Regions from separate parts of the Homo sapiens genome. Here all the other regions are linked to region 1. The links are contacts of gene promoters, found by promoter capture Hi-C in blood cells and fetal thymus (Javierre and others, 2016). All regions are on one chromosome and are shown on one strand. The core of a region is centred on a gene start or on the middle of the fragment in contact, and the rest is flanking DNA. Distances in the headings are between cores, read along the strand shown.

Region 1 (2,700 bases), core at 95-2,594:
ATATTAAAATGAATTTCATATCAATAAAATACATTTTATAATGCTTTTTACATGTCTTCCTTCTACGTATTAACTTACCAATGGCAGCTTTGCCCCAGATTTGTACACTGAGATCTGTTTTTCCTTTCGTGGATTTATCTAATATTTGAAGGCTAGTTTTAAATCTGTGTTGTTGCTCATTTTTTTCATCTCCTTCCCAAGGATTCCATTCTTCACTTTCCAAAGTGGACTGTTCTGTTTTAAAAAGAGTAAGTGTTTACCAGTAAGGTATTATTGCAGTTGTAGGTAAATTCAAATCATTTAAATTAAGTGTTAGTTCTAATTTCATCCTAACTTTAATTTCTGAGAGGTACAGCAACTGAATTTAAACTGGTAATACACAATGAAAACAAAAAAGAAAATCAGCAATTTTTTTACTGAACTTTTTTTACTCTGAAAAGTCTTAGAAATAAAATGCTACCTTGAGACAGGAAAATTCTCTTCCCCAACACAAAACCTTTAAAAATAACAGGATAATATGTATCAAGTTACAAGCTTAACTTTTGCAATTATTTTTATCCATTGTATACAGGTAACCTATGCACAAAAAACTGACTTCAGAGTGTAGTGTTCACCAGTCTTAGATACTATCGTGCAAAATTCTGAATAAAGGGAAAGAGAAAGCCGAGTCTGATCTTAACACAAGTTAAAACACAGGACAGGGGACCAGAATTTGGAGGTAAAGTCTGCCTTATGGTCACTGCAGGATTAGAGAGGGCTTTGTTTCAACATGGAAACGGATGTCTTAAACCTTGCGGCGATTTTGAGGCCTTCCAGGAGCATTCCCGCAAATCTCTGGCATTTGAGACGACGTCTTGGATTTTAACACGTGTTTGAAAGGCGTGCGCGCCTGTCACCCCCTGGGATCGGGAGCGGGGACGGCGTGTGAGATCTGGGTAAGAATGAGGACCATTCTCCAATTCCGAGCCAAGGGCTGGCTCGAGAGGCTGTAGGGGGCAAAGCGCTTCTCAGGCCCTGCGGGTAATCCCGGACTTGAGAGCCGGGTGCGGGGACCCGGCCCCAGCCGCCCAGCAGCCCCAGCCAGGAGCGCAGAGCCGGAAGGAAGCCGCCGACCCAGTCCTACCTCGGCCGCGTCTCTCCCGCGCGGGGGCCGCCCCCTTCCTGAGGCCCCGCGGGGACCCGGCCGGCGCCTGGCGGCGGCGCCCGAAGAAGACGTGGTAGGCAGCGTAGAGGGAGAATAGGCAGTACAGGGCGATAAGAAACGAGCAGAGCCGCTTCCGCGTCAGCCGCATCCCACTCGGGCTTCCAGTCAGGCATCCACCGCCATGGAGCGGGCGGAAAGAGAATCCGCGACACCGGCGGCGTCCGAGGCAGGCCCAGCCCGTTTCCAGGCAGTCCCCAGCCAAGGCTCCTCCGCCCAGCGCCCGGTACAGCCCCGCCCCGGACACGCCCACCGCCCGCCTCCCGCCCAGGCCCCGCCCCCTCCAGTCGCGGCTCATCCACCCGGCCGAGGGCCTGCCCACCTTCGACACTGGAGGAGGGGGTACTGGAGCGGCCCCTACCCCACGCTGCTTCCAGACGCCGGGCTGAGTGGGAACCTCTCTGACCTCTGCCGTGTACTCATTGCACCTTTCAACCCTGGCCACTTTTCCCAAGTACATAAAGACTCGGGGGAAAAAGAACACCCGCGGTGGTCCATGAAGGCCATGTGAAGGCATGGACTGTGACGTTTTTTGCTCTGCATGGAATCCCTAGCGCCTAGGACAGTGCCTACTACGTTGATAGATGAGTGAATATAAACGTCCTTTAAAAAAATTAAGTGATGATGGTCGCTTAACATTGTGAATGTAATTAATACCACTCACTTGTATGCATAGAAATAGTTAAACTGTCGAATTCATGTTTTATATACCTTACTGCAATAAAAACATTTTTAAAGTTAAGTTTCATTATTATGTGAGTTGAACGCACATAGGCATGCAGTATTTTGTCAAATAGAGGCTGTAAATGTGAATGCTTCAGAAAACTTTGTATCCAGCCTTGGGAAGATGGGCTACAATGTTTTGTCAGTTGCTCTGGTACTACTGTTCAAATTACCCAGCAGTCTTGCGACGGTATGTCTGCTAATTAGGGTGACCAATGGTCCCAGTTTGCCCAGGACTGTAAGGATTCTCCAGTTGGAGGATTTTTAGTGCTAAAATTGAGAAAGTCCTAGGAAATCAGTAAAATTGGTCACTCTAGCACCGACCCTAAACTATTAGGTCAAACACTTTACCCAATCCCCCAAACAGTTCCCTGCCTCAAAAGACCTGTTTTAAACCATTTTTGCTCAGACTCCCCAAATCCTATAAATATCACCCCCAACCTTCTCCTTCTGAGACTGCCAAGCTTCTGTCAAAGTGTGGCCTCCCTTACTGTAGTAGATTTAATAAATTTAGCTTTCCTTGATTAACAGGCTATTCTGGTGTCTTAGGGAGATGGCAGTTGTTTTATGTATGCTGTATTGTTGTTTATCCTATTTTGTTTGTTTGTGGAAATGACAATTATTTAAGGATAGGAAGTAATTACCTTATAATTACCACAAAACACCCACTGTATCAATGTACATTCAGATGCTACTGACTAATGGTTTTACTATTGAGAAATGCATACAAGGTAAAACTAATATGCAGTTGATGTCATCTTGAATAGGGGAGAGGG
Region 2 (2,729 bases), core at 200-2,699, 6.5 Mb before region 1:
CGAGCTCTAAAAATTCCTAATATTAAGCATGACACTAAATATGTTCAACTTTGAACCTTAAATTCAAGTTGGCCTCCCTCGTGAACTGATTTTAACTGAGTACTTTTTACCATTTCGCCAAGAACTAAGGGTTCAAAGCAGTGTACTTAATTATGAGGAATTGCCCAAACGATTTTAAAAGGAGTGGGATTCTCTGACCAAGACTTTTATGAAAATGAAACAAAATATGTTGCACTCAGTCTTCCGGATGTTGAAAAGTGAAGATGTCTCCAAGGATTCGAAGGAAGTTGATGTTTAGGTTCCCTCTGAGAGGGTGGTACCCTTAATGTAAGACTTTTGTGGTAGTAATACCGTACCTACAGGCCTGGAATAAATATAAGGTCTAAAACCTTGGAAATACTTTGTATAAAAGAAAACTCCAATTCTCTTTTGCTAAGGACCACAGTTACCAAGAGTTATCAGCTTTCACCCGGACAGACAACAGTGCTTCAATGAAGAACTACAAAGGCCTCTTTTAACCCTACTCTTTTCTTCTGTTAAACTTTTAAGCGAGACCTACGACAGCAAAAGGTGGAGAGGCCCCTGCGGAAGTAGAAACCCAGGACTTGCAACTTCACAGACAGAAGCGTCTGTGGTTCCTCCGCCGCCCCAGGATCATCCGGACTCAGTCTACGACACTACGGAAGCTTCACCTTCCTGGTGCGGTGGCAGAGGCGGCATCGCAGTTGCATTCCTTCTCCCTCCACCATGCACAGCCTTCGGTATCCCAGGGCCTGCAGGATCCTGACACCCGTTAGCCAGTCCAGTGTCTCCCATCTGACACTTGCAAACACACTAACAGAAATACACATAACTGGCAGATGATATACGTGTATTGAGAGAAGGTAAGAAGCCACAGACAGCACCAGCTGCCGGGAAGGCGGCAGAGCCGTCTAAAGCGGGCTCGAGCTCGTCGGCCACGGCCACGGCCGCTGCCGCCTTCTCTTCTCCCCCAGGAAGCAGCGCGGCGGCAGCGGCTCCTCCGCGCTGGCGGGAGCCTAGGGGAGTGGAGTCTGGGGAAGCCCCACCACTCGCGGATGGGACCGGGCCTAGGATCTGGAGCTGCTGCTGCTGCAGCGGCCCGAGTACAGCGACGCTTTACGTCCGGTCCACCACCACCCCCATACACACCCCCTCCCTCCCTCCACCGCCGCCACCCCCCTCCCCGCCCGCTCCGCTCTCCGTCTCTCGATTGGAGCCGAGACAAAAGCAACGGGAAGCGGTGGGCCGGGACGCTACCGGCGGACCCTGGGCGCGACCGGACCGGCCCCGGGGCATTCCCCCGCCTTGCGGGGGCCCCGAATCTGCCGCCCCCGCCGCGCGCCCCGCTGCCAGACTTCCGAAAATTTACCAAAAACTCACCGCATGAATTTTCTTGTCCCGCGGATCCAAGATGGCGACGTATCCACCGCGGAGGCTGCTGGGAGCAAGACCTTTACCCTCTGACCGCCGCCGTGACCCCCGTCGCTCCGGCTTCCCTCCAGGCGGCAGCGGAAGGTGGGAGCGACGACTGCAAAACGGCAGCGATGGGGTGGGTAGGCAGGCCGCTTTCAGCGCGCTTCTAACAAGGTGGAGAGAGGCGCTTCACTTCCCTACCGCCCTTACCGCCGCTCCGTCTTGTCTCCCACCGACTCACAGGGAGGCTTGCTGCTCCTCCGCGGCCGTTACAGAGAGCGGGGCTTCTGCGGCCGCTACCGTTTCCCTGGGGCTAGGTTGCTTCGCAGAAGGCTCTGGCCCTGAGTCCGAGGGGGACTGCGGGGTCCAGGGGCGATGAATGGTGAGGTGGCTTCAGTCCGCCCTCCCCGGGGACGCTGAGCGTGTTCGTGTTCGTGTTTGTGTTTGTGTTTGTGTTGGACACCCCCGCCCCCGCACGTCCGCCTCGTCACTCCTCCCCTCCTCACTCCCGCCACCTGGAGCGAATCTGATCGTGTCCCTGTTTCCTCCCTCAGCTCCCGCAACCTCCGGAGCTTGTGCGCGTACTTCAGGGACCGGCACCACGTCACCGTCACCTCCTGAGTAGTGAGTTCCCCTCTGATGAAACCACTGGTGTGTTTACTCACCATCCCCACCATTTTTTTTTCCCCAACCTGATGGAAGGAAGTACATAATGGAGAGCAAGTTTTTAAAGCACGGTCGTGTCGTGTGAACTTGCTCTAGCCAAATTAGGTTTATAGCACTTTTTTTGGCTCTCATTACCTCCAGTCCCCACATAAACAAGAGTGACCAGCTGGGTCATCCGCAAGACCGTTTGAAATTATTGTGGCTTGGGTGGAAACTTAAAGGAGTGAAGTATCTGCTTTCCAGAAAAATCGTTGTCATTCAAAGTGAAATTAAACTTGTTTTCTTTGCAATAATTCGCCTTTATTTCCTTGTATATCTGTAAACTCTTCACTTTTTTGTAATTACTAGACAATTCGGACTTAAAAAGAGCCTCAGCATGTGTATTTTGGAATTGTGTAGCTTCATAATGTGAAAATTATTCTTTTCTATTTGAGTAAAGTACAGTTAATTTGAAGTAAATAAAATTTCTATTTCCATTGGTTGTTTCTTTTAAAAAGTCACCTTTTACTTACAAAAGAATCACTGTAATCCAGTTTACATTTATCATTGAAGGTCAAAAGCAAGAAATAGGAAGAAACACAAGCATACTATAAAATAAAAGGTAACTGTCATGTTTTTGAAGGTAAGGT
Region 3 (2,700 bases), core at 120-2,619, 5.8 Mb before region 1:
GTTATGAAAGAACACTAAATGTTTAGAACAGTAGTACTTTGCTATACAAACCCATGATCAACTGCAGAACTCAACAGCGCCTCTCTTGCAGCCTTCGTGGCTTCTCTCCAACCCGCTATGATGGTCTGTGGATGAATCTTTTTTGCAATTAAAGATTCTGCTTCCTATTAATAAAGTTATAAAACAAAAGTTATAAATAGAAAATTATTAAGCACTCCTCAATAGTAAAGACAGAGGAAGTAAGGACTAGATTACCTCTGATACTCAAAAACACAGTAGGAAAAAAGAGTTGCTTAGTTGCTCTTACCCTTAATAATTCTGCTGCTAAAACGGTAACAGAGGTAGTGCCATCACCAACTTCATCATCTTGAACCCTTGACATATCTAGAAAAAGAAATTAGTTATTAACTCAAAATTGCTTCTTTGCTTACTAAATTCTCCAAAAATATTCACTACCAATCTAAACTTACCAGGGTTCCTCATTCAACAAATTATTTGGAACTCTGAGGTCTGAAATGCAACAGTTTTACCACCAACATACGGGCACTCCTGAAGCTTGTATTTTAACAACGATAATTAACAACTAGTGGACATCAATTGACAGTACGATTGGTCAACACAGCCTATTTATAAAGTTATTTCAAAAATGTTAACAAACAGTATTATTAGGTTGGTGAAAAAGTATATTCAGACTTACCAACTAAAACTTTAGCTGCTGGATTGTCAACACCAATGTTTTTTAGAATAGTGGCACCATCATTGGTTACCATAAGAGAGGCATCTCGTCCACTGCTTAGAAGAATTTTGTCCTAAAGGGAACATAATTGGTTCAAGTTAAGACATAAGCACATCTTGAAGAATGCATGGATCAATCAGTATTCTCACACAGTGCTAGTGTATAAACACTCTGGATAGCTATTTTGTGGTATCCATTCATCAAATGTTTTCAATACATACACCACGTAACCAAACCATGTATCTACCCCTAGAAACACTAGAAGCACAGGTAGACACTAGTTTTTGTTTCAACACCGTAACTGCAAAAACAATGGAAAGAAACTATCAATACAGCCATAATTAAATTATAAAATAATTAAGGTACAGGATAATATTTGACAGTTAAAGGGGCAGTGTTATCTACTTACACTGAAAGGAATTTAAAAGAGCAAGCTACAAAAAAGTATTGATAAATAGTATCTGTTTTATAAAACAGTATGTTACATGAGTATAAAATACATAATGAAGTACACATACTTCTACATAAACAGAATATTAGAAGATGTACGTGCAAATGATAACAGTACTTGTCATTGGGGAGGGGCATGGGATTGGGGATGGTGATTCTGGGGACTCTGATTTTTACTAAGGAGAACATACTTGTCTTTTATAATTAAACGTTTTAAAGATTAAAAAGCATTTTAATACGCTTGTTATTATATTTCCACCAAGCGCTCTAAAACAATATTAAAATATAAAACTTTTCTATTTTTCTTACCATGCCTTTGGGTCCCAAGGTGCTCTTTACCAAGTCTCCAATGGCGATGGCACCAATAAAAGAAGTCTGGAGTAAAAACCAAGGAGATTATCAGAATCAACTTTACAGTCTTCAAGTACAGTTTTATCTTTATTTACTTTTTTTTTTTTTTGAGGCAGAGTGTCGCTCTGTCGCCCAGGCTGGAGTGCAATGGCGCGATCTCAGCTCACTGCAACCTCCGCCTCCTGGGTTCAAGCGATCCTCCTGCCTCAGCCTCCCGAGTAGCTGGGATTACAGGTGCCCATCACCACGCCCGGCTAATTTTTGTATTTCTAGTAGAAACGGGGTTTTACCATGTTGGCCAGGCTGGTCTCGAACTCCTGACCTCAGTTCATCCGCCTACCTCGGCCTCCCAAAGTACTGGGATTACAGGAGTAAGCCACCGCGCCTGGCCTCCAGTTTTATCTTTAAAACAATGCTTAGAACAAGGCTTACCAGACGAGCTGTCTCTGCTCTCTCTTCATCAGCTCCTGCCTTAAAGATGTTAACAGGTGCAAGGGAAAGGGACGCCTGAAAAGGAAAACCAAGAGGCATTCCGTTTAAGTACCAATACTCTAACACATACACTGAGGTGCCTTCCACTAGTCTTACAAGTGGACATCTAAGAGAAAACTCATTTACAACAATGTTTTCAATCAAATGAAGCTTCCATCATCGGAGAAAGCATTTAAGTGGGAGAGAGGGACTTGTAGGAGAGCGACATGGCTTTTCGGATTTACAAGGCCCCCGGGAGTATAAATTATACACCAGCGAGATTGACAGTTACGTACAGCGAGACTAAAGACGATCTTGAACTAAGAATGAGGCAGGGAGGGGTTGCAGGCCATCAAGGTGACGCCTGCCGGGCGGGCGAGGGAACGCGGCCTCCATCTTCCACCCTCGGAAGGCTGCGGCCCCTCCACCCTCTGATGGCTCAGACCCCGTCGCTCCAGGCTCCGCCCCTAGAAGGAGGGCGGAGCGGGTCCCACACTAGAAATTTCTTCGCTCCGGGTGAGGCGCGGACCTGGGCTGCCGGGACTATGCAAAGACCTAGGCACAAGGAGACGCTGGCTTTGCGGTCCACCCCTCCCCCTCGTGGTGAGCTCCACCGGCTGGCCTGGCGCAGGCCGCACGCCCCGCGCATGGCTCGCACCATGTGCGGAGGGCCGGGGAGACAGAAACGGAGC
Region 4 (2,700 bases), core at 53-2,552, 6.0 Mb before region 1:
GATGCAGTCTCGCTCTGTCGCCCAGGCTGGAGTGCAGTGGCACAATCTCGGCTCACTGCAACATCTGTCTCCTGAATAGCTGGGATTACAGGCGCCTGCCACCACACCCAGCTAATTTTTTGTATTTTTAGTAGAGATGGGGTTTTGCCATGTTGACCAGGCTTGTCTCGAACTCCTGACCTCAAGTAACTGTCTGCCTCAACCTCCCAAGTGCTGGGACTACAGGTGTGAGCCACCATGCCCGGCCTAATTCCACAACACTTCAATGTACAACCTGACATGTGTAGAGATGTTAGTTATTGCAGTGTGTTATGTTGACAGTTTTCAGAAAATGTTCTGAACTTATGAGCTAATATTATATTTAATTACAAATAATTATTTGTAATAATACAATGAGCTAATATTTAATTACAAATATTTATTTGTAATTAAATATTTATTTAAATTAACAGAACACCGCATGTTCTCACTCATAAGTGGGAGATGAACAATGAGAACACACGGACACAGGGAGGGGAATATCACACACCAGGGCCTGTGGGGGAGTGGCGGGCTAGGGGAGGGATAGCATTAGGAGAAATACCTAAGGTAGATGATGGGTTGACCGGTGCAGCAAACCACCATGGCACGTGTATACCTATGTAACAAACCTGCACATTCTGCACATGTATCCCAGAACTTAAAAGTATAATTTTTTAAAAAAATCATTTTCCAAATTTCTTTTTCTCAATAATGGAAGCTTCATTTTACATATTCTCTTAAGAATATATGCCAACTAAACATTCAACAGGTGCTGAAATACGCACTGACTAAATAAATAAACAAGAGTCTTTAGAGAAGGAATGAATAGCAAAGCGGTAAAGAGTGGAGACAGTTATTCAGGCTACATTTTTGCTGAAAAAGATAGAAATGAAACAGTAAATACTTTGCGAGAGTATCAAAACTGGAGAAATTGAAGTTTGAGAAAACCTGAGCATTTTAACAGACTAACTTCAGAAAACCTTCCTTCTAGTTCAGATTCTGTCACTGACAAGCTGTGTGAACTGACGCAAGTCATTTAATCTCTCTAAGGTTCAGTTTTGACATCTATAATGGTAGTGATATTATCTCCCCTGCCTACATTTGAGAAAATCAAATGGCATATCAATGTAAAAATGTATACATTGTAAAGCACAACATAAATGTATGATTTTATAAAGATCTAAGAAAGAAAAAAATGTAATGGGGGAAATAGCAAAAGCATACTGAGGGGTTTGTCTTACAAATCAGAAGGTATCTTTATTTATCTTAGGTAAAAGGAAAGAAAGGGAAAACTAGTCTTTATGAGGCATGTAGTTCAAATATGATTCTTTTCCCCACAGGGAATTGATACAAATTTGCTTATTGTTTTTTCAAACTTATTTTGGTTTTTCTTTTATACTTTATCCTTATCTGACAACCAGATGCTCCCAAACAAATATTCAATACTATTACTTTTATCTGGGCATATCAAATTACAATTCACTTATTTAAGTGGTTCTAAGCTATCATCTATATGCTCCTTTATGCTCATAGGGCATTCTCACATTCTTGAATAGTTTCTTCATACTAAGCTGTCAATTCATATACTTATTTGTGTATGTATCCATACCCCTCAGAGGAATTTCATCAACTGCCATTATGATTATATTTACAATCCTACTGTTAACGACAAGCATCAAATCTTTCATGAACTTGAACTATTTGAATAATTTTCATTCTTTTTCCTCTAAGTAATATCAGTTTACGGCTATAGTTATCTAATTTCGTGTTGCCCTATATTCTAAGATAAATCAGATTACTTTTTCCACTTTTCTCTAACCATGACTATGTACGATGTAAGCTTATAAAACTACCTCATTTAGTGGTAAGTTGAAAAGGAAAGCAGAAGGGAAAATAGAGATAGCAAGTTAATGCTCCCAGTTGTATAAATATCTTCCTCTTCCTTCCTTTGTCCCTTCATTTCTCAATGTTCATTTCAATTTCTACTGCTAGAGCAGCTTCAAAACATCCTAACATTCTTCAACTGATCATCCATCACCAAACACAGCACAGTACTTACCTGGCCCGATGTTAAAGCTATAAAATGAGGTAAGCCCTACTCTCGAAGCACTTGTAGACTAGAGGAAGAGACCACCTTGCCAATAAACATGTTTCTAGGGCCCTAGAAACAATTACAAATACAACACAAATATCAAAGTTCATAAATACCAAAAAAGAGGTACTCAGTATTATAAAAGCATAAAATTTTTAAAAAGAGTACCATCTGGTACAACTAAGGATAGTAGCATAAAAAAGGAGAAACAAGCTAGAAAGCAGTTTACAAAAGCTCAGATATTTTGTTTTTAGGATATCAAATGCGTAGTAACCAATTTACTATCCTTTGATGAACTGCATCTTAATCAGAATTATATCGGAAAAAAGTTTAGTGTGAAAAAGCGTACTCCCTTGGAATATCTTCAAAGCTTTCCCTCATTACCTCAATGCACAAATATCTCTACCCACTATCCATCTGTCCTTCCTCTCCACTACTCAACTATCCTAGCACTTTGTCTTAGTTGACATTCATTAAAATATGTAAAGTGCGTTCTACATTTTGAAGAACTTATAAAAGATATGGGAATGATTATAAGGCCCTACCTTCCATATTCCTTAAGAACAGTTTCCTTTAACCCCTACTGT

What was found. Contacts are between HindIII fragments. The CHiCAGO score rates a contact against its expected background, and 5 or more counts as called.
Region 2: a contact is called between the fragment with the promoter of CNOT2 here and the fragment with the promoter of RXYLT1 in region 1, in 3 of 17 cell types (non-activated CD4 T cells, total CD4 T cells and activated CD4 T cells). The highest score is 9.9, in non-activated CD4 T cells.
Region 3: a contact is called between a fragment that was not itself captured here and the fragment with the promoter of RXYLT1 in region 1, in 2 of 17 cell types (total B cells and activated CD4 T cells). The highest score is 7.0, in total B cells.
Region 4: a contact is called between a fragment that was not itself captured here and the fragment with the promoter of RXYLT1 in region 1, in 4 of 17 cell types (non-activated CD4 T cells, activated CD4 T cells, total CD4 T cells and 1 more). The highest score is 9.7, in non-activated CD4 T cells.

The regions. Positions count from the first base shown.
Region 1 is chr12:63,778,553-63,781,252 of GRCh38, reverse strand. RXYLT1 (ribitol xylosyltransferase 1) reads right to left here and starts at 1,344. Exons shown (of 6, transcript NM_014254.3): 1 at 1,124-1,344; 2 at 79-234. The coding sequence starts at 1,292. RefSeq lists silencers at 976-1,275, 1,004-1,279, 1,296-1,525. The HindIII fragment of the contact is 1,854 bases long and covers 537-2,390 here.
Region 2 is chr12:70,242,153-70,244,881 of GRCh38, reverse strand. CNOT2 (CCR4-NOT transcription complex subunit 2) reads right to left here and starts at 1,449. Exons shown (of 16, transcript NM_014515.7): 1 at 1,402-1,449. PRANCR (progenitor renewal associated non-coding RNA) reads left to right here and starts at 1,522. Exons shown (of 5, transcript NR_120460.1): 1 at 1,522-1,570; 2 at 1,989-2,058; 3 at 2,653-2,701. RefSeq lists enhancers at 720-859, 1,590-1,789, 964-2,163 and silencers at 1,160-1,419, 1,491-2,030. The HindIII fragment of the contact is 4,785 bases long and covers 689-2,729 here.
Region 3 is chr12:69,585,614-69,588,313 of GRCh38, reverse strand. It overlaps CCT2 (chaperonin containing TCP1 subunit 2), which reads right to left. Exons shown (of 16, transcript NM_006431.3): 2 at 1,970-2,044; 3 at 1,496-1,561; 4 at 698-809; 5 at 308-384; 6 at 52-164. Among named protein-coding and RNA genes, the nearest start is that of CCT2, 1.5 kb to the right of the region's middle. RefSeq lists an enhancer at 2,485-2,700. The HindIII fragment of the contact is 1,624 bases long and covers 558-2,181 here.
Region 4 is chr12:69,741,990-69,744,689 of GRCh38, reverse strand. The region is part of intron 1 of RAB3IP (RAB3A interacting protein); the gene reads right to left. Among named protein-coding and RNA genes, the nearest start is that of RAB3IP, 4.5 kb to the right of the region's middle. The HindIII fragment of the contact is 1,122 bases long and covers 742-1,863 here.